7 separate regions of the Homo sapiens genome follow, and all the other regions are linked to region 5. The links are contacts of gene promoters, found by promoter capture Hi-C in blood cells and fetal thymus (Javierre and others, 2016). All regions are on one chromosome and are shown on one strand. Each heading gives the region's core, a stretch centred on a gene start or on the middle of the fragment in contact. The rest is flanking DNA. Distances are from core to core; before and after follow the strand shown.

The links. Contacts are between HindIII fragments. The CHiCAGO score rates a contact against its expected background, and 5 or more counts as called.
Region 1: a contact is called between a fragment that was not itself captured here and the fragment with the promoter of USP37 in region 5, in 7 of 17 cell types (naive CD8 T cells, total B cells, non-activated CD4 T cells and 4 more). The highest score is 8.4, in naive CD8 T cells.
Region 2: the fragment with the promoter of ABCB6 here is called in contact with the fragment with the promoter of USP37 in region 5 in 7 of 17 cell types (neutrophils, activated CD4 T cells, total B cells and 4 more); the score reaches 6.5 in neutrophils.
Region 3: a fragment that was not itself captured here is called in contact with the fragment with the promoter of USP37 in region 5 in 3 of 17 cell types (activated CD4 T cells, naive B cells and fetal thymus); the score reaches 7.7 in activated CD4 T cells.
Region 4: a fragment that was not itself captured here is called in contact with the fragment with the promoter of USP37 in region 5 in 3 of 17 cell types (fetal thymus, total CD4 T cells and naive B cells); the score reaches 7.0 in fetal thymus.
Region 6: a contact is called between a fragment that was not itself captured here and the fragment with the promoter of USP37 in region 5, in 1 of 17 cell types (total CD8 T cells). The highest score is 5.4, in total CD8 T cells.
Region 7: a contact is called between a fragment that was not itself captured here and the fragment with the promoter of USP37 in region 5, in 2 of 17 cell types (total B cells and naive CD8 T cells). The highest score is 6.6, in total B cells.

What each region holds. Positions count from the first base shown.
Region 1 is chr2:219,381,297-219,384,762 of GRCh38, reverse strand. DNPEP (aspartyl aminopeptidase) reads left to right here. Exons shown (of 15, transcript NM_012100.4): 9 at 320-397; 10 at 1,549-1,632; 11 at 2,624-2,784; 12 at 3,179-3,218; 13 at 3,327-3,428. Among named protein-coding and RNA genes, the nearest start is that of DNPEP, 4.9 kb to the left of the region's middle. The HindIII fragment of the contact is 7,826 bases long and covers 1-3,466 here.
Region 2 is chr2:219,217,337-219,220,724 of GRCh38, reverse strand. It overlaps ABCB6 (ATP binding cassette subfamily B member 6 (LAN blood group)), which reads left to right and starts at 1,767. Exons shown (of 19, transcript NM_005689.4): 1 at 1,767-2,600; 2 at 2,918-3,055. The coding sequence starts at 2,052. It overlaps ATG9A (autophagy related 9A), which reads left to right. Exons shown (of 16, transcript NM_001077198.3): 16 at 273-1,345. The coding sequence ends at 278. RefSeq lists a silencer at 2,328-2,437 and an enhancer at 1,683-2,550. The HindIII fragment of the contact is 13,414 bases long and covers 1-3,388 here.
Region 3 is chr2:219,259,990-219,263,150 of GRCh38, reverse strand. All of the region lies in intron 1 of TUBA4B (tubulin alpha 4b), which reads right to left. Among named protein-coding and RNA genes, the nearest start is that of TUBA4A, 7.7 kb to the right of the region's middle. The HindIII fragment of the contact is 2,500 bases long and covers 414-2,913 here.
Region 4 is chr2:219,238,735-219,242,399 of GRCh38, reverse strand. It overlaps GLB1L (galactosidase beta 1 like), which reads left to right. Exons shown (of 17, transcript NM_001286423.2): 6 at 2,115-2,209; 7 at 2,306-2,480; 8 at 2,567-2,625; 9 at 2,718-2,839; 10 at 2,949-2,989; 11 at 3,190-3,308; 12 at 3,621-3,665. Among named protein-coding and RNA genes, the nearest start is that of GLB1L, 4.9 kb to the left of the region's middle. The HindIII fragment of the contact is 3,209 bases long and covers 72-3,280 here.
Region 5 is chr2:218,566,323-218,569,845 of GRCh38, reverse strand. It overlaps USP37 (ubiquitin specific peptidase 37), which reads left to right and starts at 1,495. Exons shown (of 26, transcript NM_020935.3): 1 at 1,495-1,668. It overlaps CNOT9 (CCR4-NOT transcription complex subunit 9), which reads right to left and starts at 1,007. Exons shown (of 8, transcript NM_005444.3): 1 at 868-1,007. The coding sequence starts at 891. RefSeq lists enhancers at 413-602, 397-1,024, 1,025-1,652 and silencers at 1,313-1,372, 1,463-1,532. The HindIII fragment of the contact is 2,574 bases long and covers 170-2,743 here.
Region 6 is chr2:219,539,958-219,543,301 of GRCh38, reverse strand. CHPF (chondroitin polymerizing factor) reads left to right here. Exons shown (of 4, transcript NM_024536.6): 1 at 1-77; 2 at 1,113-1,686; 3 at 2,177-2,356; 4 at 2,660-3,344. Among named protein-coding and RNA genes, the nearest start is that of CHPF, 2.2 kb to the left of the region's middle. RefSeq lists a silencer at 1-61. The HindIII fragment of the contact is 1,213 bases long and covers 1,093-2,305 here.
Region 7 is chr2:219,157,481-219,160,923 of GRCh38, reverse strand. It overlaps NHEJ1 (non-homologous end joining factor 1), which reads left to right and starts at 109. Exons shown (of 8, transcript NM_024782.3): 1 at 109-204; 2 at 2,562-2,738; 3 at 3,240-3,443. The coding sequence starts at 2,562. RefSeq lists a silencer at 325-444. The HindIII fragment of the contact is 2,637 bases long and covers 875-3,443 here.

The DNA of each region.
Region 1 (3,466 bases), core at 91-2,590, 820 kb before region 5:
ACCCTGTCTCTAATAAAAATACAAAAATTAGCTGGGCCTGGTGGTGCATGCCTGTAATCCCAGCTACTCAGGAGGCTGAGGCACGAGAATCCTTTGAACCCGGGAGGCGGAAGTTGCAGTGAGCCGAGATCGAGCCATTGCACTTCAGACTGGGCGACAAGAGCGAACCTTCATCTCAAAAAAAAGAAAAAACAAAATAGTGCCCTAAGCCAGGGGTCAGGGAGAGGTTGCGCAAGAAACCAAGGAGACCCTTGGGAGCAAAAGAAAGGTGAGTGGGGGTGGAGGGTTGAAGGTCGGGCTGACTGTCTTACCTCTCTAGGTCTTGGGTGGTGCCTATGATGAGTTCATCTTTGCTCCTCGGCTGGACAATCTGCACAGCTGCTTCTGTGCCCTGCAGGTGAGGAGCCGGGGCGCCCCAGGCAGCACATAACCACCAGCAGAGGTGGTATGTTTGGGGTCGGGGGAGCTGCCTAAAGCCCCAGCAGGTTGTGAGAGAGGGCCATTGTCTACCCGCTCAGTCTGCTGGTGCTGGATGGACCAGGAGGGGGCCCTAAATGTTGCAGCCTCAGCATCGCCACCTTTGGTCTCTGCCCTTGCACTATCAGGGTGTTGAGGCAAGAAGAAGGAGGAGAAGTTGTTTCAGGCACCATGGTCTCTTGTCCTAGCCTTGCTCCTGCTGCTTTTCCTGAAGTTAACAACCTCTGCCTCAGGGAAAGGCTTTATCATCCACAAGGCAGTATCATCCACCTCCTTCTGCTTCCTACGCCACTCCCCAGGCTTAAGACCCCAGCCTTCTCCCTGTTTCTTGGGATCTCAGTCAGGTAGCCTCTCTTCCTAGTCACCTTGATATTCCCCACCTTCTCTCCACCCTAGTCAGTTCCCTTTCTTTCTCTCCTCTTGCCCTTGATCTCCCTCTGCCTTTTTCTGCCTTTCCTTCCCTGTAATCCTGTGGCTGGAGATAGGCTTTGGGCTGTAATTGAGACCAGAGCTGGACCTGGGACCTGCATCTACTTCTGCAGGCAACCAGCCAGTCATGTCACCTTGATGGAGTCTGTCACCTCTTTGAACCTCAGTCTTTTCCCTGAGGCCAATCAGTTTATGTGATGTGTGTAGCCTTTTGGCTTTCCAGGACTCTCAGCTCTTCCTCTCTGTCCTCCACATCTTCTACTGCCTTTTGCATGGGAAGGTAGAGAACAACACCCAAAGGATGGTGTCTCCTGTCCCAGTTGAAAAGGTTTCTACCTAGCTATTGATCTGGCCAAAAAAAAAAAGAAAGAAAGAAAAAAAGAGAAAAAAAAGGTCCTCACCACACCTTAAAGGTTTCTACCTATGTAGCTATTTATTTGGCAAGAAAAAAAAGGTCCCCACCACACCCTCTGCCAGGCAGTGCCCTAATTGATAAAAGTCATGGCCATGGAAGGCAGACAGGGGAATGTGCACACCCAAGGTGCTGGTGGATGGGGGAGCGTGCACACCCAAGGTGCTGGTGGGCTGAGTTCCAGCAGAAGCAGGTTGGAGATGATGCTCTCATTTCCTTCCCTGAACCAGGCCTTGATAGATTCCTGTGCAGGCCCTGGCTCCCTGGCCACAGAGCCTCACGTGCGCATGGTCACACTCTATGACAACGAAGAGGTACGTGGAGGGTTCTGGGGAGGGTCACCTCTGCGGAGTCTTCCACAGCCAACTTGTTGTGCCAGGCATCCACCGTGAGCCAGGGCTCTTCTGGGGGCCCCAAGACAGGGGAGATGCTGCCTGTGCCTCCTTAGCACTTGGTGTCTCCTCTGACTCAACATAGATCTGCTTATTCGAGGGTGACCGTCTCTCCTGTATCTCTCTTTGTGCCACATGGTGAGCTTCTTCCTTTAGGACAGGGACTCTACCCAGCCCATCCTCGTAGCCCCAGGGCTCAGCACAGAGTAGGTCCTCATGATGCCTGCGTGTGTGAGGCTGCAGTCTCAGCTGCATAACAGAGCTTGAACAGCTAGTGCTCTCTCATGTAACAACCCAGGTCAGAGTTAGCAGTTTAGGAGGGGTCCCTGCCGTCCTGAACACATGACTTCCATTTCAGGATTCAGGGTGGCCGTTCCAGCTCTGGCCATCATGTCTACACTGAGTTAGTAGGAAGGGAAGAGAGGGCAAAGGGGCAGTAGACACCCCCTGGCTTTAAGGGCATGATCCAGAAGTGACATTCATCACTGCTTACATTCCACAGAACTTAGCTGCAGGGGAGCCTGGAAATGTCATCTCTAGCTGGGTAGTTAAGTGCTTAGCTACAACTTGGGTGTTCTAAAAGATATCATGGACAGTTAGCAGTCTCTGTCATACACATAAAAGAAAATTGACCAGTGTGGTGGGGCACCTGTGCTGAGCCCCAGATGTGAGGGTCACGAGAGGAGGAAGGGGAGCAGTGCAGGAAACCCACCAGTACTGTTAAGAATGTGAGTTAGTTTGGTCTCAGCCCACTGTCTGGTGTTCAGTGACGACCCCAGGTTAGGGGTGTTGCTAAGAACACCCAGTGACTCAGTGGGGTTTTGGGCCAGTTGGGCAATGGGCCCCTCTCACTGGCTTCCAAGATCAGGCCCCTAAGCCCAGATTCCCAGAGTCAGGACTCTACTGTCGCCAGGTGGGGTCTGAGAGTGCACAGGGAGCACAGTCACTGCTGACAGAGCTGGTGCTGCGGCGGATCTCAGCCTCGTGCCAGCACCCGACAGCCTTCGAGGAAGCCATACCCAAGTCCTTCATGATCAGCGCAGACATGGCCCATGCTGTGCATCCCAACTACCTGTGAGTCTCTAGTGCCAGTCACACAGTCTTCACATAGCTGGAGACCCAAGCATAACCTGCCTTGAGGCTCTGCCTTGGCCCCAGCCTCTTCCTTTCTCCCTTCTTCATTCTGCCGGGAGGTTCACGGGCACTTCCTTTTCACTACTGCGAGACCAACTTGGTCAAAGTCATGCAATGCCTAACCCAGGTGTGTGGAATACACCTTTGTCTACAAACTTGTTTCCATCTATTGCTAGAGGCTGCCCGGAACCCTGTGTGTGGAATGACTCTGAAGTCCCACTGGGCTGGGCGGGAAAGAGTGGTGATCTATTAGTGATGTCTGCCATGGGAGGGTGGTGAGTGTCGACAGGCCTGCTCCTGTTTGCTATGTCTGGCCCTTATCTGTCTCTTACAGGGACAAGCATGAGGAGAACCACCGGCCTTTATTCCACAAGGTGAGACGTGCCATTTCTCCCTAGGGACTTGGAGGTCTGGCTGTTCCGAGCGCCGACTCATTCCCTTTGGGCCTGTCATTACCTCTGCCTCACCTTGACTCTCCCCAGGGCCCCGTGATCAAGGTGAACAGCAAGCAACGCTATGCTTCAAACGCGGTGTCAGAGGCCCTGATCCGAGAGGTGGCCAACAAAGTCAAGGTCCCCCTGCAGGTGAGGGTGGGCCCTGCCTGGGAAGGTGTGATGGAGGG
Region 2 (3,388 bases), core at 518-3,017, 650 kb before region 5:
AAAACTGCCAGAAATAGTAACTTCCAGGGTGAGGTAACAGCTTTTCAGGGGAAGGAAGATATGCCCCACCCCCACACAGAGATACTGTACCCTCCCTTCCAAAACACACTACCCCTTCTTTTCTCAACTGCTCTGCAGGGCTTGGTTTTTCCTTACCTTACCTCCCCAGGAATCAACCTTTCCTGTCCCTTTACCTCTAGGTTTCTATGGGGCTAGCAGGTATCAACCAGAAGCTGAAGACTATCTCCATTACCAACCCTTTCTCCCCACAGGTATAGACAAGGCTGAGCAGGGTTCCTGTGGCCCAGGATGGAGGCCACCGCTGCCCTGCCATCCCGTCTGCCTGCCATGGGACGGCTCCTCTGAGTGTTCCCTGGCCCCACGTGTGTGGTGTTTGTGTGTCTGTGCCTGGCCAAGGGAGGTGCCAACACTGGGCTTGCCACAGCCCCAGGAGAGGAATTTGGGGCCTAGGAACCGAGGGCACACGGGACTCTAGCCTCATCCCCAGGACCCCCTTGGCTCAGAGTGTGGTGCTAGAAACTGGCCCCCAGCCCAGCCCCAGTACTGCCACCTTTACACCTACCCCTGCAAGTCCCCAGAGGGCTGCCCACGATAGAAGCTGCCAAGCAGGGAGAACCTGTGCCAACTGTGGAGTGGGGAGGTTGGGCCTGGACCCTCAACCCCTGCAACCTTCCCTAGCCCCCTCAATAGATGAGCAGGTCAGGCTGTGGCCCTTACCTCACCCGCAGTTCTCGCCCAGTGCTGCAGCCGGCTCACCTCTCTCCGCTTCTTGCACATCACTGGCCTGTGTGTGCTGCTTGCTCCTGTTCTGTTCGCTTGCTCCCGTTCCGTTCGGCTTTTGCTTTGCGTTAGGGTGAAGACCCTAGCGTCCAGCTCCCCTCAACGCTATATTTTGACACTAAAAAAGAAGGTTTCTAAATTGTAGGAGCAGGATGGAAATACTTTGCTGCCCTTGCCATCTTTTAGGATGGGCCCCCAGGAGACTGAGGTCTTCCTGGGCCCTCATTGCTGCTTATCGTACCCCCCATCACCTGCACATGGGACAGACCGGGCTGGAGGGTGACCTTGGCTGTGTGCGTCCCAGCAAAAGAGCTCTGGCCCGCATCTCGCTGTGCCCTGAAGGGGGATGAAGGGCGATGCCTCGCCCGAGGCTTTGGGCTGCTGCACTGCATGCTGGGACTGCTCCTACTCTCTGTCCCACCCCTCACCCAGCTGTGGTCCGGCTTTGGGAGAGTGGTGAATTGCGCTGCCCGAACTCGGAGCGGAGCAGGGTAGGGACCGTGTACAGCTTGATAACCCTTAATAAAAAGGGAGTTTGACCAGACTTCTTGTTGTCTCGCGCGGCTAGAATCCTGGGAACAAGAGAAATGGGATGGGGACTCTGCCGGGGTCTAGAAGAAAGTATGTTTAGGCCGTCGCTCAGATACGCTGAGCAAGGCGGCTGGCGGAAGGGCAGCTTCCGACCCACAGTTCCGTGGAGGTCTGTGTCCTGCCCCGAGCCAGGATTCCGTGAGGTCTGTTTCCAGCCCCGAGCCACGATTCCGTGGAGGTTTCCAGCTCGGCCTGGTCGTCAGATTTCCCGCCCTGGGCACGTGACCAAGCCGGCTCTGCTTCTCTAATTTGCATTCGTTGCCTGCACCATTCCCCCCGCTCCCCCCTCGGAGACATTTGGCCAATGGGAGCCGTGGGTAGGGGCTGTGGGCGGGGCTACAGCCGTGGAGCGCGGTGCGAGTCCAACACCGAGCATTCCCGTGGGCCTGCAGTTGGCAGGAGGGTCCCGGGCCCAGAGCCAGCGGGGCCGTGCTGAGACGGCGTACGTGCCCTGCGTGAGTGCGTGGCGGCGGCGCGTGCGCTAGGGGAGTGGGCGGTGAGGCCTGGTCCACGTGCGTCCCTTCCCGGGACCCCCGCAGCTTGGCGCCCAGCGGCTACGTGAGCCAAGGCACCCGGATGTCCGCGCCCCTCTCCGAGTGACCAGTCCCGGCCTCCGGTCCCGCAGTGCCCGCAGCCTCGGCCGGCGTCCACGCATTGCCATGGTGACTGTGGGCAACTACTGCGAGGCCGAAGGGCCCGTGGGTCCGGCCTGGATGCAGGATGGCCTGAGTCCCTGCTTCTTCTTCACGCTCGTGCCCTCGACGCGGATGGCTCTGGGGACTCTGGCCTTGGTGCTGGCTCTTCCCTGCAGACGCCGGGAGCGGCCCGCTGGTGCTGATTCGCTGTCTTGGGGGGCCGGCCCTCGCATCTCTCCCTACGTGCTGCAGCTGCTTCTGGCCACACTTCAGGCGGCGCTGCCCCTGGCCGGCCTGGCTGGCCGGGTGGGCACTGCCCGGGGGGCCCCACTGCCAAGCTATCTACTTCTGGCCTCCGTGCTGGAGAGTCTGGCCGGCGCCTGTGGCCTGTGGCTGCTTGTCGTGGAGCGGAGCCAGGCACGGCAGCGTCTGGCAATGGGCATCTGGATCAAGTTCAGGCACAGCCCTGGTCTCCTGCTCCTCTGGACTGTGGCGTTTGCAGCTGAGAACTTGGCCCTGGTGTCTTGGAACAGCCCACAGTGGTGGTGGGCAAGGGCAGACTTGGGCCAGCAGGTGAGGGACTCTGTGGGAAGGGGGAAGCCTCTGCTGGCCGGGCTTGGGAGAAAGCACTGCATGTCCAGTCACACTGCTTCCAGGCTTTAGGATGCCTCTAAGCAAAGGGAGAAGGGAGGGGCTGAGTCCTGCCGGGAGCTGATAGCCAGCTGGTGGGGTGTGTCTTTGCTGAGTCACTGTGGTTTTGCTTTTTTTTTTTTTTTTAAGCCTGTAAGTGCTGAATGTGTTCATGACACCAGTCCCCGGCCCTATTATAAGTAGTAATACAATGAAATTTTATCCTCAATGATACTCTCTCCACTTATATTTCATTCTAGGTTCAGTTTAGCCTGTGGGTGCTGCGGTATGTGGTCTCTGGAGGGCTGTTTGTCCTGGGTCTCTGGGCCCCTGGACTTCGTCCCCAGTCCTATACATTGCAGGTTCATGAAGAGGACCAAGATGTGGAAAGGAGCCAGGTACACCTCAGTTTCTTTTTTTTTTTGGAGACGGAGTCTTGCTCTGTCACCAGGCTGGAGTGCAGTGGCGTGATCTCAGCTCACTGCAACCTCCACCTCCCGGGTTCAAGCGATTCTCCTGCCTCAGCCTCCTGAGTAGCTGGGACTACAGGTGCATGACACCACACCCAGCTAAGTTTTGTATTTTTAGTAGAGACAGGGTTTCACAGCATTGGCCAGGATGGTCTCGATCTCTTGACCTCGTGATCCGCCTGCCTCAGCCTCCCAAAGTGCTAGGATTACAGGCGTGAGCCACTGCGCCTGGCCTCTTTTTGTTTTTAAGACGGAATCTTG
Region 3 (3,161 bases), core at 414-2,913, 690 kb before region 5:
ACTCTTAATTTCTTCAACAAATATTGAGTGCTTGCTGTATGCCAAGCACCATTTCAGGTGCCAGGGATACAGTGATAAACACAAAAGTTTATGCTTTTTTGGGGGGTGGGGAATGGAGTTTTGCTCTTGTTGCCCAGGCTGGGGTGCAGTGGTGCTATCTCGGCTCACTGCGACCTCCGCCTCCCGGGTTCAAGCAATTCTCCTGTCTCAGCCTCCCAGGTAGCTGGGATTACAGGCGCATGCCACCATGCCTGGCTAATTTTTGTATTTTTAGTAGAGACGGGGTTTCATCATGTTGGTCAGGCTGGTCTCGAACTCCTGACCTCAGGTGATCTGCCCACCTTGGCCTCCCAAAGTTCTGGGATTACATGTGTGAGCCACTGTGCCTGGCAAGTTTATGCTCTTAAGAAGCTTACATTCTAGCCTGGGCAACATAATGCGACTCTGCCTCCACAAAAAAAAAAATTTTTTTTTAATTAGCTGGGTGTGGTGGCACATGCCTGTGGCCCCAGCTACTTGGGAGGCTGAGGAGGGAGGCTCACTTGAGCGCAGGAGGTCAAGGTTGCAGTGAGCCGTGATCATGCCACTTGCACTCCAGCCTGGGTGACACAGTAAGACCCTGTCTCAAAAAGAAATAAAATGGAGCTTTCATTTTCATGGGGAAGACAGACAATAAACAAACAAGAACATTCCAGATAGCAATAAGCATGTGAAGAAAACAAGGCTGGATAATGGAACAGAAAGATATGCAGGGGCTGCTATTTTAGACTGAACAGAAGCCACTCTATAAGAAGGTGATATTTGTTTTGTTTTGTTTTGTTTTGTTTTTGAGACAGAGTCTCGAGTCTCGCTCTGTCGCCCAGGCTGGATGGAGTGCAGTGGCACGATCTCAGCTCACTGCAAGCTCTGCCTCCTGGGTTCACGCCATTCTCCTGCTTCAGCCTCCCGAGTTGCTGGGACTACAGGCGCCCACCACCACGCCAGGCTAATTTTTTGTATTTTTAGTAGAGATGGGGTTTCACCATGTTAACCAGGATGGTCTCGATCTCCTGACCTCATGATCCGCCCGCCTCGGCCTCACAAAGTGCTGGGATTACAGGCGTGAGCCACTACACCCGGCCAGAAGGTGACACTTGAACTGAGGGCTGAATGGTGAGGAGTCAGCGAGGCAAGATCTGGAAACCAGTTCTCCAGACAGACAGAATAATAAGTGCAAACAATCATAGGTAGGAACTAGCCCAGTGTGTCCAAAAACCCAGAGTGAGGAAAGGAGAGAGCTCTACAAGATGAGATCATAGAGGTGGAGGGGCCTTGGAAGGAGAATGGCTTTTATATAAGTGTAACAGGAGGGTTTGAAACAAGCGTCATTGCCTAGCTTGTGTTTCAGAGAGATGACTGCAGCTGCTGTGTGGAGACTGCATTAGGGTTTCAAGCCTAGAGGCAGGAAGCTGGTTCAGAGGCTGCTGAAGGCATCTAGGAATAACGGGATGGTAGTAGGGGGTGGTGAGAAGTAGCTGGGTTGGCAGTAAAGTGAAGGACATACTAGTGTAGGTGGTGGCAGAGCTTCTCAACAGCCTTGCCTGCCCCTGCCCAATTCTTCACTAGCAAGGTCCTGATTTTATTTGAGTATTCACCCTTGCACTTGCTTGAGGAAGACAGCTTTCCCCCAGACCTAGGGGTGTGTACAGGTTAGTCCAAACCATCCATGGCCATTTAACTCCCTCCCTCCAGTGACTGGTTTAGGCAAAAGCTAGTGAGATAGAAGGGGGAAGTCTGCTAGGGCGCTTCAAGGAAAGGTTTTTCTCCTGATAAAAACAGATGTGGGAGGAAGCCCCCCATTTCCTGCCTTAAGACAGAGTCATATAAGGACATGATACTTAGAGCTGCTGTATCTTGTGTTCCTGAGGGAAGATGTCACCCGCTCTTTGAGGATGACAGCGCAGAAAGCTAGAAACACTGGAGTTATTGGTGACATGACTGAATCAACCCTGGAAAGACCCTATACTCAGATTTCTTGTGGGATAATACATGCCCTCATTGTTCAAGCCATTGATAAGTTAGGTTTTCCATTATTTGCAGCCAAAAAATTCTAACTTAAAAGAGGGAGAGGAGAGAGAGAGAGAGAGAGGAAAGTGATCCTAAAATAAAGATTTTATTTATTTATTTATTTATTTATTTTTTTAGATGAAGTCTCGCTCTTGTCCCCCAGGCTGGAGTGCGATGGTGCGATCTTGGCTCACTGCAACCTTCGCCTCCTTCAAATGATTCTTCTGCCTCAGCCTCCCGAGCAGCTGGGATTACAGGTGCCCGCCACCAAGCCCAGCTAATTTTTGTATTTTTAGTAGAGACGGCGTTTCACCATGTTGGTCAGGCTGGTCTCAAACTCCTGACCTCAGGTGATCCGCCACCTTGGCCTTCCAAAGTGCTGGGATTACAGGCGTGAGCCACCGTGCCCGGCCAATCCTAAGATTTTAACTCAAGCACTTGGAAGGAAGATGATCACTCAGACTGGGAAGCCTAGAACAGAAGCAGGTTTGGCAGGGAGTGGGGTGAGGGTAGAAAACAGTTCCATGGTGACTGTGTTATGTTTGAGATGTCTCATGGGCTTTCAAGTGGAGATGTCAAGAAAGCAATTAGTCATATGAATCTGAAGTTCAGAGGAGAGGTCAGAAATGGAGATATAAATTTGAGTCGTCAGCATATATATGACATTCATTTCTTTTTATCCTATTCCTTCACTATTGTATGGGAATGTATATACTCTAGTTTTAAAATAATTCCAAAATTATTTTTTAATAATTCTCTTTAAATAATTCCAAAAATGTTACAATAACTTTTTATGATGAATATTATTAAAAATATACCTAAAAATAGAGATAATATAATAAAACCTCATATATTCATCACCAAGCTTCAACAATTGCTCCTTCAGGGAGAAAAATAAATGAAGGAAATAAGAGAACCTGAGACTGGGCTATGGGGAACATCATTTAAAATTAAGCTATCAGAGGCCACCAAGAAGGAGGGGCCAGGACAAAAGCTAGAAGCCGGTGCTGTCATCAAAACCAACAAAAAAGAATTTCAAGAAGGAAAGAAGAATCGACCATGAGAAATGCTGCTGTGAGCGGCTAAGAAAGATGAAGATGGAGATGTGTGGCCTT
Region 4 (3,665 bases), core at 427-2,926, 670 kb before region 5:
TTTCCTTCATGCCCAGCAGGATGCTAGAAACTGGGGGACCAGACAGACCCCCATCCTTGTGCCGTAAAGCTTATAATATAGTGGAAGAAACTGATTAAAAAAAAAAAAAACAGCTGGGCGCGGTGGCTCATGCCTGTGATCCCAGCACTTTCAGAGGCCCAGGCGGGTGCATGACCTGAGGTCAGGAGTTTGAGACCCACCTGGCCAACATGGCAAAATCCCATCTCTACTAAAAATACAAAAAATTGGCTGGGCGAGGTGGTGGGCACCTGTAATCCCAGCTACTTGGGAGGCTGATGCAGGAGAATCACTTGGGCCCGGGGGTCAGAGGTTGCAGTGAGCCGAGATTGAACAACTACACTCCAGCCTGGGTGACAGATTGAAGAGACTTTGTCTCAAAAAAGAGAAAATCCTATCAGCTGTATCTTGACAAACATTAAATTTAAGTGCTTTTTATCACCCCCATTGCCCCCACCCTGGTCCAAACCATCTCTCTCAGCTGGCTTATTTTATAGCTTCCTAACTGGTTTCCCTTGTTTGCCCTCTCCCCCATACAATCTGTTCTCAGTAGAGTAGCCAGTGTGATCCTGTTCAAGTATAAGTTTAAAGATACATCTCAGATCTTGTCATTTCTCTGCTTAAACCTCTCTAGTAGGTTCTCATCTCATTCAGAATATGAACCATAAATTCCTTAAAGTGGTAGGTCCTACACAATTGGCCCCAGTCACCTCCTCGACATTATTGCTCTTCTCCCCCATGTTCACTCTGCTCCAGCCACAGTGGCCTCATTGCTGTTCTTCAGACCCACCAGGCCTTGGGCTTTGAGGCCTTTGCATGTGGTGCTCCTTCATCACAAGCCTCCTGCAGAAGTCACCTTGGTGAGGCCTTCCTGGTCTCTCTCTCGCTCTCTCTATACATACATATATATGTATGTATATATATATATATATATATATACACACACACACACACACACACACACACACATATATATATATTATTTTTATTTTGTTTTATTTTTGAGATGGAGTCTCGCTCTATCACCCAGGCTGGAGTGCAGTGGCGCAATCTCGGCTCACTGCAAGCTCCACCTCCCAGGTTCACGCCATTCTCCTGCCTCAGCCTCCTGAGTAGCTGGGACTACAGGTGCCCACCAACACACCCGGCTATTTTTTGTATTTTTAGTAGAGATGGGGTTTCACTGTGTTAGCCAGGATGGTCTCGATCTCCTGACCTCGTGATCTGCCAGCCTTGGCCTCCCAAAGTGCTGGGATTACAGGTGTGAGCCGCCGCACCCGGCATAATTGTTATTTTTTTTTGAGACGGAGTCTTGCTCTGTTGCCCAGGCTGGAGTGCAGTCACGTGACCTTGGCTCACTGCAACCTCCGATTGGGTTCAAGTGATTCTCCTGCCTCAGCCTCCCGAGTAATTGGGATTGCAGGCACCTACCACCTTGCCCGGCTAATTTTTTGTATTTTTAGTAGAGACAGGTTTTTGCCATGTTGGCCATGAGGGTCTCAAACTCCTGACCTCAGGTCATCCACCCCTGCCTTGGCCTCAGAAAGTGCTGGGATTACAGGCGTGAGCCACCACACCCGGCCATCCCCTCTATATTTTAGTCTCCCCATATACCACCATTTTTGTTTGTTTGTTTTGAGATGGAGTTTTGCTCTTGTTGCCCAGGCTGGAGTGCAGTGGTGCAGTCTCGGCTCACTGCAACCTCTGCCTCCCGGGTTCAAGCGATTCTCCTGTCTCAGCCTCCTGAGTAGCTGGGATTACAGGCACCCGCCACCATGCCCAGCTAATTTTTTTGTATTTTTAGTAGAGACAGTGTTTCACCATGTTGGCCAGGATGGTCTCAATCTCTTGACCTCGTGATCTGCCTGCCTCCGCCTCCCAAAGTGCTGGGATTACAGGCGTGAGCCGCCACGCCCGGCCCATTTGTTTTTAAGAAACACTATTTTAAGGTTTCCTATGTTCAAATTTCATTGGCGTGCAAATATACAAGGTGCTTAGGGTTGGGAATTTCTTGACAAGAGTCATTGCTTCCCATATTTAGTGGTGAGCAAGTGTGATGGTAGCACCTAACACAGAAGCTCTGCTCCTTCCTTTAGACTTCCTTGCCGCAGTGGACTCCTGGTTCAAGGTCTTGCTGCCCAAGATATATCCATGGCTTTATCACAATGGGGGCAACATCATTAGCATTCAGGTACAAGGGGGAAGTGACTGGAGCAGGGGAAGAAGGTACAAGGGGTCCTTGACCTCCATCCCATAGCTGGGTTCCACTTTCCCTCCCCTCTGGCAGGTGGAGAATGAATATGGTAGCTACAGAGCCTGTGACTTCAGCTACATGAGGCACTTGGCTGGGCTCTTCCGTGCACTGCTAGGAGAAAAGATCTTGCTCTTCACCACAGATGGGCCTGAAGGACTCAAGTGTGGCTCCCTCCGGGGACTCTATACCACTGTAGATTTTGGCCCAGGTCTCAAGCAAGGGCTGGGAGTGGAGTCTGGGGAAAGGACACCTCTTCCACGACATTTATCTTTTTCTTTTGCCTCCTTTCCGCAGCTGACAACATGACCAAAATCTTTACCCTGCTTCGGAAGTATGAACCCCATGGGCCATTGGTGAGGGGCCAGAGAGGAGTCAGGGAATCAGGGATAGGAATGGGTCCAGCTCAGTTCCATCTCACTCACACTCCTTTCATTTCACACTCTAGGTAAACTCTGAGTACTACACAGGCTGGCTGGATTACTGGGGCCAGAATCACTCCACACGGTCTGTGTCAGCTGTAACCAAAGGACTAGAGAACATGCTCAAGTTGGGAGCCAGTGTGAACATGTAAGTAAAGACACTGGGGGCAATATGAATCTGTAGCTGGGAGCTGGGGATGAAAGTTAAGATTCAGTGAGTCAGCTTTTACCTGTTCCCCCACCCTCTCTCACTTCAGGTACATGTTCCATGGAGGTACCAACTTTGGATATTGGAATGGTGAGTCCAGATGGTCCCTGGGATAGAAGCAGGGAGGTAACAAGGAATTAGAATCTAAGGGCCAGGTGGATTAGGATGTCTAGAAGCTGAATATGGCCACCTCTGCCCCCTCTGATGGCAAAATTCTCTGCATGAAGCATGCTTAGTAGTGCCTGTCATCTGAAATACATGTTGAATTAATTAAATTGGCTCAACTTCAGGTGCCGATAAGAAGGGACGCTTCCTTCCGATTACTACCAGCTATGACTATGATGCACCTATATCTGAAGCAGGGGACCCCACACCTAAGCTTTTTGCTCTTCGAGATGTCATCAGCAAGGTACCCTACCATTTCATTAAGCTCCAAAGGCTTTTATTAATTTGGAGGAAGGGAGTGCCCACATTGTAAAGGTATCCCATAAATTGGTGGTTATTGTCTGGGCCACAGAGCCTTCTGAGCATCCCACTGAGGCATTTCCCATTCAACCAAATGGGACTATGTGTGAAGACACACAGGTGTGCAAAATTATTGAGCCTCCATGATCCCTGAAGCCCTTCCCTGGGCCCCAGGTTAGGAACTCTGCCCTAGAGTCTTGGAATAGGTATTGTTTTCTGTGGTTTTCCTATGGATCCTGAGAGAATCTGGGCTCAGTTCCAGGAAGTTCCTTTGGGACCTTTACCTCCCCCGAGCCCCAAG
Region 5 (3,523 bases), core at 246-2,745:
TAAGGAGAGGAAGGAGAGTTCAAGGAAGAGGTACCAATTACACTCATGCTGTGTATGTAAAGGAGGAGGGATAAGAAGAACATTCACTCCAGGCATAGAGACCACAAAGTGCATCTTGGAGAAAAATAAGCGCGTTGCAGAGGGTTAGGTGGCCAGAGTAGCTGAAGCTTTAGGAGCAAGAGACATAAAACGAGATTATAAACGTGGGTTAAGTACCACATCATACAGGGCCGTGCAGGCTATGGCAAGGAGTCTAGATTTTATTTAAATGCCAAGAGAAGTAGGATTACTTCGGATAGCTGAATTACACTATCTTTCTTTTTTGTTAAAAGATCACGCGGGTAAAACGAGATGTGTCGAGGAAAAGTTTTAAATGCAGAGAACCTAAGTCAGATGCAAAAATTATGCACTTTTCCGGGCCTCAGGTTTTCCATAAATAAAGCAAGTGGTTTGAACTAGAAGCCATTTCCTTCCCGCTGCGACGTGGTGAGTTCTAAGAGCAGGGGCCGCGTCAGATTGACCATGGAATTCCCCTCATCGACGCCGGCGCCCAGAACACAACTGGCGCCCTGAAACTGTTGGTCAGCGCAATAAATCAATGAATGGCCTGCTACGGGCGTGGGACCAGGCCCCGGCGCCCGCAAAGAACGCGATGGGTCGCGCTGAAGGCCGCGAGAGGCGTCCGGCAAGGAAATAGGGGCCGGCTCCACCACAACCAAAGCGTGCCGAGGAGGGGAACCGGGGCCTTGGAGATTGAGGGCAGAAAAAAATCAGACTAGGGACCCGACACCGGGAATTAGGAGAGAAGGCCGAAACGTGGGTCTGAGAAAGGATTCTGGTTCCAAGCCTGGGGGCCCAGCCACTCACCGCAGCCGTCGCCAGGCTGTGCATGTTGTGAGCGGCCGCCGCTCTCTTCCACAGCCGGACGCGTCCGACCCGCGTCCCCCCTTCAGCACCCCTGCAGCGGAAAACAATGAGCCGCCGTAGCCGCCATCCGACTCCGGCTCGCTCCGCCCACTTCGCGGCCCTCTGACCTCTCACCCCTGACCCCACCCACACATCCTCTTCCCGCCTCCAGGGCCTAGTTAACAGTCCCAGAGTATGTCCTTTGCCCCTTAAGATTTAGGACCGGAAGGACGTCCGCGACCACTAGTCCCCGCAACTTCTGGCTTTGAGCAGTTATTTCCAGAGAGCGGCGTGAACTCTGACCCTCCTCCAAAAGCCAGTGAACGGCGGGAAAAGATGGACAGTCCCGGCAAGACAACTATTGCGCATGCCCGACTGGGTTGCGTAGGAGGGAAATGGTGGGGGGGCGTCGAAATCGGGTGAGGTGGAAAGTGCGCGTGCCTACTACAGTCACGGCAGGGGCGGGGCTGCCCGGGCTAGGCCGCTCTAGGTACTGGCGGGGCGGGGCGAGGGCGTGTGAGGGGCGGAGTTTTCGACTGACGCGCACGCGCCTGTCTGGTCGCGTCGAGTGTGCGTGCGTGCGTGCGTGTTTGCGTGTGGTCACAGTTCCCGCCATCAGCCGCTCTCCCTGACTAGGGGTAGCTAGCGGCCTCCCTCCTTTGGGTTCGGTATCCCTACTTCCATTACCCTCGGCTCCTCCCACTCCTCGCGGGCTCCGTGCTTTCCGCGGGTCTGTCCGGGGGCTCCGGACCCTCGGCGCAGGTAAGGCGGGCCGGGGTAGCTTCTCAATTGAGCCGTTTTCCCTACCTCCTCCTCCTTCTGTGCGATCCGCCCACTCGGCGTTCACTCCTCTGGAGTTCGCCCTGCTGCTACTCAGCCCGCCCACAACCCCTCGATGCACCCCCAGCCTCACAGGTACTACCTTTGGGTGCACTGCCCCGGCTTCCACCTCTCCTTTGACTTGGTCTCCACTGCCACTCGCTCCCTCCGAAACTCAAACCTGGCCCCTTTTCTCTGGGGCTGTTGTCGTTCGCCTCTTACCTTCTAACAGGGCCTGCTGTCTCTTCAGGTGACTTTCGTTACGGCACATCCACCAGGCCTTGGACATGATACTCATTCACTCTCTTGACCATCTTCACCTTCCTCTTGACCAGTCCTCACTGCAAAACATGAATTGTATTTTTGTTGTGCATTTCCTTGCGCCCATTTCTAGCCGCCAGATCAGGTTGTTAGATGTAACTATTTTAAGTCATGATCCATGAAAGGAAATGATGATTGATGATAAAATCCTGTGTCCTGAAGAGTTGTCCTAAAGTGGTTTTGGGGTATTCCTCTCAAAATTTCAGCTCTGTATAAATTCCTTTATTGAGGTGGCAATTCCTGACAAGTGTCTAACTGGAAGAGATACCTGAGAGGGAATGTCAAGTAGGCAGTTGGATATAGTGGGTTTGGAGATCTTAGGAGAGTTCTGGGCTGCGTACGTAAATGTGCGCGGTGTGTGTATGTGTTTGTCATCTGCCATATTGATAGTAATTGAAGCCATGGATGTGGATGAAATTGCCGAAAAAGAGTATAGTGCTGTAAAATAAAGGCACCTAGGATGGAGCATTGACGAATTCCTGCTGTTTAATAACCAATAGAGGAGGATGCGTCTTGCAAGCCATGAAAAAAGTCATCAGTAGTGTTGCATTCTGCTGAAAGGTAAAATGGAAGGAGGACTGAAAAACCCAGTGATATAAAAGTACTCACTTGTCTTAAAGATGTTTGATGAAGTAAAATGAGTATTTGGGTTCAGTCCTAGGTCCTCTTCTTTTACTCTTATATTCCTCCCTAAGCTTTAAATTTGATCTATATATTGATGACTTAAAAATTGTTATTTCCAGCCTATTCCCTTTGTTTTCAGCTCCACATCTAGATAGCCAGCTGTCTGCTTGACATCTCAACTTGATTTTTTTCTTAGGAGTTTCAGATGCAACACAGCCAAATCCAAAGCCTTGATCTTTCTCTCCATATCGAAATTCTTTCTTCTCCAGTGTCCCAGTTTATTAAGTGGCACATGACACAGGCTACACACTTGGGAGGCATTCTTGACTTCTACTCTCTCCAAGTTCTATCCTACTTCCAATACGTGTCTTGCATCTTTTTCTGTACATTTTCACTGTCACTTTTCTAGTTTAAGCCACAGTCCTTAAAAAACCTGGACTTGATTGCCTTGGCTTCCTGTATTATCATCTGTAAAATGGAAATAGTAATTTTCAGCCTATTGGATTGTTATGAGGATTAAGTGAGATAACCATGATAAGCACTTGGCACAGAGTAAATGGCCAGTAAGCATTAATTGTTATTGTTATAAGCTGATCAACTCAATACTCTTCTATCTGGTTACATTATTTTCTTCTGTTCTTGCTCTTAGTCACTCTCCCAAAACCCAAACCAACCATATATGACTTCCTCATTCAGTAGTAACATATTTCTTTGCTTAAAACCTTTTGGTGGATTTCCTCCTGGTAAGTGCTTGTTACATTTAGGATAAAATTCGGAATCTTTACTGTGGTTCACAAGACTGCATAACCTGGTTCTTGCCTGCTTCACTAACTTCATCTTCCTCCTCTCCTTC
Region 6 (3,344 bases), core at 450-2,949, 970 kb before region 5:
GCCGGGGAGAATTGGGAGCCGCGCGTCTTGCCCTACCACCCTGCACAGCCCGGCCAGGCCGCCAAAAAGGCCGTCAGGTAGTGATCGGCTGCGCCCGCTCTACCCCCTGGGCAGCGGCCGGGAAGCGCGCGGGGAGGTCGCCCGGGCCCGGGTCAGGCTCCGGAAGGAAGGGGCTGGCGAGCCAGGAAGTCTTTGGGCCCCGATAACTTCCGATGGCCCTGCCTTCCCGAGAGCCGTGGGGCCAGTCCGAGACTTTCTCTGGGCCCTATCCCGGCCTGGGCTGAACTTACTGGACTGTGTCCTAAACCGGCTCGACCCGATGGCGCCCCAGAGATCCTACTAGCTCCCTGGCTGGGCTGCTGGTGTTAGAGAAATGACTTATATATAGGGTGAGTGTATAGAGACAGGGGAAGAGAAAGGAGAGAACTAGGATTTACCTGGATCTCTTGTTCCTGAGTGGGTTACAAGGGCCACCTCAGGGTGAGATGGGGGAGGGAGGAATGTACCTATCTCATTAATGTCTCTGCTGATGAGTTGAAATAACTTCTAAGTAACATTGGGTTCAAATGCTGGTTCTGCAATTTACCTTCTGCCTTACCAAAAGGTAAGTTCCTAGAGCCCCTGAGTGCAGTTTGCCCCTCCCCGCAAAAACACTCAGTACACCCCTATGCCAAACGTTCCTTTATGTCATTTATGTGAGGCATTTGTGGCATAATGGCATATTTATATAGAAATGAGTAGATACATGGTGTGTCCAGCGTTTGGCTGGGTGCTTTAAACAGATATAATCAGTCCCATTTTACAGATGGCTCAGGTTAAATAACATGCTCAAGGACATAACTACTAAGTAGCGAACCCCGGAGTCAGACCCACAATATCTCTCTCCTATCTGGGTGGGTATTGCCATCTCCCAAATGCAAAGCACTACCTGTTTAAGACCATTTCGTTTAAATCCTCATGACCCCTGGGAGAGAGGGTTTATTTTTAACCTATTCATAGGTGAGAGAACAGATACAGAGAAGACGTGACCTGCCAGGGTCTGTGCTGACCACCTCCCCCCCACCCCCCGCCCCGTTGTCCTTTTGATAAGCTTGTGCCATCTCCTCCCCTAGGACCCGCTACATCAGCACGGAGCTGGGCATCAGGCAGAGGCTGCTGGTGGCGGTGCTGACCTCTCAGACCACGCTGCCCACGCTGGGCGTGGCCGTGAACCGCACGCTGGGGCACCGGCTGGAGCGTGTGGTGTTCCTGACGGGCGCACGGGGCCGCCGGGCCCCACCTGGCATGGCAGTGGTGACGCTAGGCGAGGAGCGACCCATTGGACACCTGCACCTGGCGCTGCGCCACCTGCTGGAGCAGCACGGCGACGACTTTGACTGGTTCTTCCTGGTGCCTGACACCACCTACACCGAGGCGCACGGCCTGGCACGCCTAACTGGCCACCTCAGCCTGGCCTCCGCCGCCCACCTGTACCTGGGCCGGCCCCAGGACTTCATCGGCGGAGAGCCCACCCCCGGCCGCTACTGCCACGGAGGCTTTGGGGTGCTGCTGTCGCGCATGCTGCTGCAACAACTGCGCCCCCACCTGGAAGGCTGCCGCAACGACATCGTCAGTGCGCGCCCTGACGAGTGGCTGGGTCGCTGCATTCTCGATGCCACCGGGGTGGGCTGCACTGGTGACCACGAGGTGGGATGATAAGCTATCCCACTGATACCTCCTTGTCATGTTCAAATCCCTCTGAGAGGCAAAGGGATGTTGGAGATACAGGTCTGCTTTTCCATGCCAATTCGGACATTTATTTTCTATCTCTGTGACCCCCAGTAAATTACTAAATATCCTGGGCTTCAGTATCTTCCTTTGTGCCAATGGAAATAATTATTGCTCGGGGTTGTTACAAGGATTAGAAAAAATCAGGGAGCCTTGTACATAATAGGCATTTGATGTTAGTTATTATTTTAGCCCTTGGACAGCTCTGAGACAGGACGCATGCCCATTTCGCAGATGAGCTAGCGGAGGCATGCTGAAGGTCACACAGACTCACAACTGGTCAAGGTAGACTTAAACCCTCAGACTGCAAGTCCACAACAGGTCATAGGCTGAGGAGATGAGACACTTACTATGAGACAACGGAAGACAATGCCAGCTCATCACAGATCCCTTCCCTTCCTCTCCCCAGGGGGTGCACTATAGCCATCTGGAGCTGAGCCCTGGGGAGCCAGTGCAGGAGGGGGACCCTCATTTCCGAAGTGCCCTGACAGCCCACCCTGTGCGTGACCCTGTGCACATGTACCAGCTGCACAAAGCTTTCGCCCGAGCTGAACTGGAACGCACGTACCAGGAGATCCAGGAGTTACAGGTATGGTCTAGGTCTGGGGGTGGCAGAGTGACGGGGACAGGATCTGAGAAGTCACAGAGAGCCCAGAGAAATGACAAGTTAGCACTAGAATCACAGAACAAAACTACTTCCCAGCCCCTGCCTGTTTCTACATTCTCTGATGAGCCTCTTGGCTGTCTATGCTGGGGAAATGATAGGTATGGGCAGAGGTTGGCAGGGGATGAGGGGCCCATCCTGAGTGGCACCTACTGCCTACCCAGTCCCCCAGCTGTGTGCTGCTCCCTGTAATCTGTCCCTTGCTGATGGCCTGTTTCTCTGATCCAGTGGGAGATCCAGAATACCAGCCATCTGGCCGTTGATGGGGACCAGGCAGCTGCTTGGCCCGTGGGTATTCCAGCACCATCCCGCCCGGCCTCCCGCTTTGAGGTGCTGCGCTGGGACTACTTCACGGAGCAGCACGCTTTCTCCTGCGCCGATGGCTCACCCCGCTGCCCACTGCGTGGGGCTGACCGGGCTGATGTGGCCGATGTTCTGGGGACAGCTCTAGAGGAGCTGAACCGCCGCTACCACCCGGCCTTGCGGCTCCAGAAGCAGCAGCTGGTGAATGGCTACCGACGCTTTGATCCGGCCCGGGGTATGGAATACACGCTGGACTTGCAGCTGGAGGCACTGACCCCCCAGGGAGGCCGCCGGCCCCTCACTCGCCGAGTGCAGCTGCTCCGGCCGCTGAGCCGCGTGGAGATCTTGCCTGTGCCCTATGTCACTGAGGCCTCACGTCTCACTGTGCTGCTGCCTCTAGCTGCGGCTGAGCGTGACCTGGCCCCTGGCTTCTTGGAGGCCTTTGCCACTGCAGCACTGGAGCCTGGTGATGCTGCGGCAGCCCTGACCCTGCTGCTACTGTATGAGCCGCGCCAGGCCCAGCGCGTGGCCCATGCAGATGTCTTCGCACCTGTCAAGGCCCACGTGGCAGAGCTGGAGCGGCGTTTCCCCGGTGCCCGGGTGCCATGGC
Region 7 (3,443 bases), core at 944-3,443, 590 kb before region 5:
CCACTGGGGCGCTCCTCTCATCAGTGTCCCAGGCCCAGAAGCCCCGCCCACGCCAGGCATAGGCCCCGCCCCTGTATCCCAAGACCCTGCCTCCTCTTGCGGTGGGGGGAAAGCGGCCTCTTACTCTAGGCCTTTCGGTTTGCGCGAGCGGGCAGGAAAGCGTGCGTGCGGCTAAGAGAGTGGGCGCTCTCGCGGCCGCTGACGGTAGGTGGAATCGCGTTCGAGTCCGGGCAGGAGCAAGCCAGCGAGGGGCTGCTCAGACGCTGCGGGTTGGCCCTGGCGCTGGCCTTTTCTCCCTGGAGGGAGCGCGCGCTGCCGGGGTCCAGGGCAGGCCTCCGGGGGAGGGGTGGGCGGGGCCGCGCGTGCGCAGTCCGCTGGCTGCTGCCCGGCGTGGATGGTAGGGCTCGAGTGAAGGTACTCGTTGGTCGCCTGTTTGGTGCGACGAAGCCGCTGGTGGCCGGCTTTGTTGCCCCTTGAAGCCGCGCCCCAGTGCAGCCAGTGCTGTAGAAATGGGAAGGCGGACAGCGAAGGCTGTTATAGCTGGGGCGGGTGGAAGCGGGACGCCTGGCGGCTCCTGGGGTGGGGCTATGGTTGTGGTGGGACCTAGGGTTCGCGCTGTCCCAGGGGGACCGGGCGGGGCCCAGCCGGGATGCTCTCTGGGCCTCTACTGCCCTCTGCAGGGCGTCGGAGGAACTGCCCAGAGGGGTCACTGCTGAGGAGCGGACTCGGTGCAGATAAAGGTTCTCAAGGGACCCCTCCGCCGGGATGCCGCTCAGCGCCCCTCCACTCAAGAGAAATAAACCCGTGAATCTCGTTAATGTGAATGTTAGAGGCAGCCTTGAAGGAAAAAAGAAAAGGATGAAGTGTAGAAGCTTCGGACGCAGAACGGGACGCGTGTGGTGGGAGCAGGCAGCCGGGGTCTGGTGCCCAATGTGTCAGGCCTTTTTATAGGGCCCGTTACTCCTGGCCACATTTTAAACTCCTCCCCCTTTACCCAACAGACAAACAAAACCCATCAATTTGAGGGTTCTGAGCTTCCGGGCTTTCCGAAGGAATGGGCTAGAATAGTAAACCCAATTTTGGCAACTGTTAAGAGTACACTGGGGAGTGCCTATAAGGGAGATGAAAGTGGCGACTTTATTCGCGTTTGTGACCTTTGGCATTGTGGAGCTCTTGTCCGGCTAGGACTAGCTTAATCATCCCATGACCACTTCTGTCCCCATAAGAGCAGCATGTGGGAAATGTGACGGAAACACCATCCTCCAAACACAAGGCTTTGAGGATGCCATAAAGAAAGATCACCACGTATATGTATATATATGCATATATATATATGCATATATATATGCATATATATATGCATATATATATGCATATATATATATGCATATATATATGCATATATATATAAAGTTATGTCACAAGTCACAAGGGCACACTTCAAAAGCTAGGGGAAATGACTGTGTTAATCAGACTTAATAAGGAATTTCATTATTTACATTCTAAATTTTTCCTTCCTGGTACTTCTGTTCATTTTATATTTGTAGACTGGAATAATGAAGGAAATTGACATATTTTTTTCTCCCCCACAGGAAAAACAATCACATTCTCTGTCAAGCAGCCGTAGTTCTGATTGTCTACTAGGTTAAGCCTACTACTTTAGCTGCTGAGATAGAAAAGTTGTTTTGCAGGGGTTCCAGGCTGGGCATGTTGTCATTGGTGGCAGTGCACTGGAGTGGGAATGTGGAGGATGAGTTAAGTGGAAGTTAATTCAGTCTTTACCTCTGTGATGTGCTCTGCCTTGTATTCATGATTTCCTAGTCATTCTGGTTTTTGTTGAAATGAAATTTAGGTCTTTTCTGTTGCTCCTGGACACAGGTTCTTAGCTCTTTTTTGTGTCATCGATCCCTGAGAGTTTGATGATAGCTGTAGACCTCTTCCCCCTCCCCATGCATATATGCGTGTACACATAACATTTTCATATAATTCTAGAGGATTCACATGCATTGACTCTAGATTAAGAACCTGTTTTAGGGATTTTTAAAAAAATCCTGAGAGCTTCCTAAACTTTGTTTTTAGATAATGATCAAATACTTCGAATTTCCTGGCCCTGACACTATGACTTATGATGTTTTATAAGACAAGAACTATTCCTTCTCTTCTAGTTCTGGGAAAGGATAGGAGTGACATATTTATTAGGAATGTGATAAAGATGGAACAAGAAGGGTTTAGGTTTCCACGTTATGTTATAGTATTAGAAAGCAGAAATACTAACAGCAATATGCTGAGGTTTAAACACTATGGAAGAAAGATTTTCTGTCCTCTAGGAATGTAATATGGGAAAAAAAAAACCCTCAAGATTTTAAATATACTTTTAGTGGCCAGGAGGTAGTAAAGTCAGTGCTCAGCTGGTTGTATACTGGGAGAACGTAAATCCATGCCTTCTATTTTATCAGGGAGGATTTTCATGAGATTTTAGTTGATACAGACTGGTTTGGGTGGTGCCCTCCCTAGGCCAGCATGACCCTGAGGCTCTTTACTAAATGAGGACTTTTTTGCAGATGGAAGAACTGGAGCAAGGCCTGTTGATGCAGCCATGGGCGTGGCTACAGCTTGCAGAGAACTCCCTCTTGGCCAAGGTTTTTATCACCAAGCAGGGCTATGCCTTGTTGGTTTCAGATCTTCAACAGGTGTGGCATGAACAGGTGGACACTAGTGTGGTCAGCCAGCGAGCCAAGGTAAGTATGAGGAGAAGTACTGCTGTGTCGGGGATGTGAACATCAACCAGCTTGCTGGCCTGTAGTTTCCCAAGGAAGGTTGAATCGGGTTGAGACAATTCCAGTTAATGTCCTGTACTTCTACCTGTACTTCTGCCTGGAATCTTTGTGTGTGTGTGTGTGTGTGTGTGTGTGTGTGTGTGTGTGTGTGTGTGAGAGAGAGAGAGAGAGAGAAAGAAAGTTAGTTTCCCTACCCTATGCATGATAATGAATATATTATTTGATCTAGATAGGCCTTTTGTGATTTAATCTTGCCCAAGGCAGAATTGTGAAGTAGGCCAATTGGTCTTTGTGACTCTCTTCTTTTTGTTTTCTTCTTTCCCCTTGTGATGTTTTTATCTTCTCTCCCCTTCCTCTCATGTCCATTGCCTTCGTGTTAACCAGGGCTTTCCTTTGCTGTTACTTATGAGGGAATTAGTTTCCTTTTAGCACCCTTACTCTGTACCACTGCTCTCTCTTTAGGAGCTGAACAAGCGGCTCACTGCTCCTCCTGCAGCTTTCCTCTGTCATTTGGATAATCTCCTTCGCCCATTGTTGAAGGACGCTGCTCACCCTAGCGAAGCTACCTTCTCCTGTGATTGTGTGGCAGATGCACTGATTCTACGGGTGCGAAGTGAGCTCTCTGGCCTCCCCTTCTATTGGAATTTCCACTGCATGCTAGCTAGT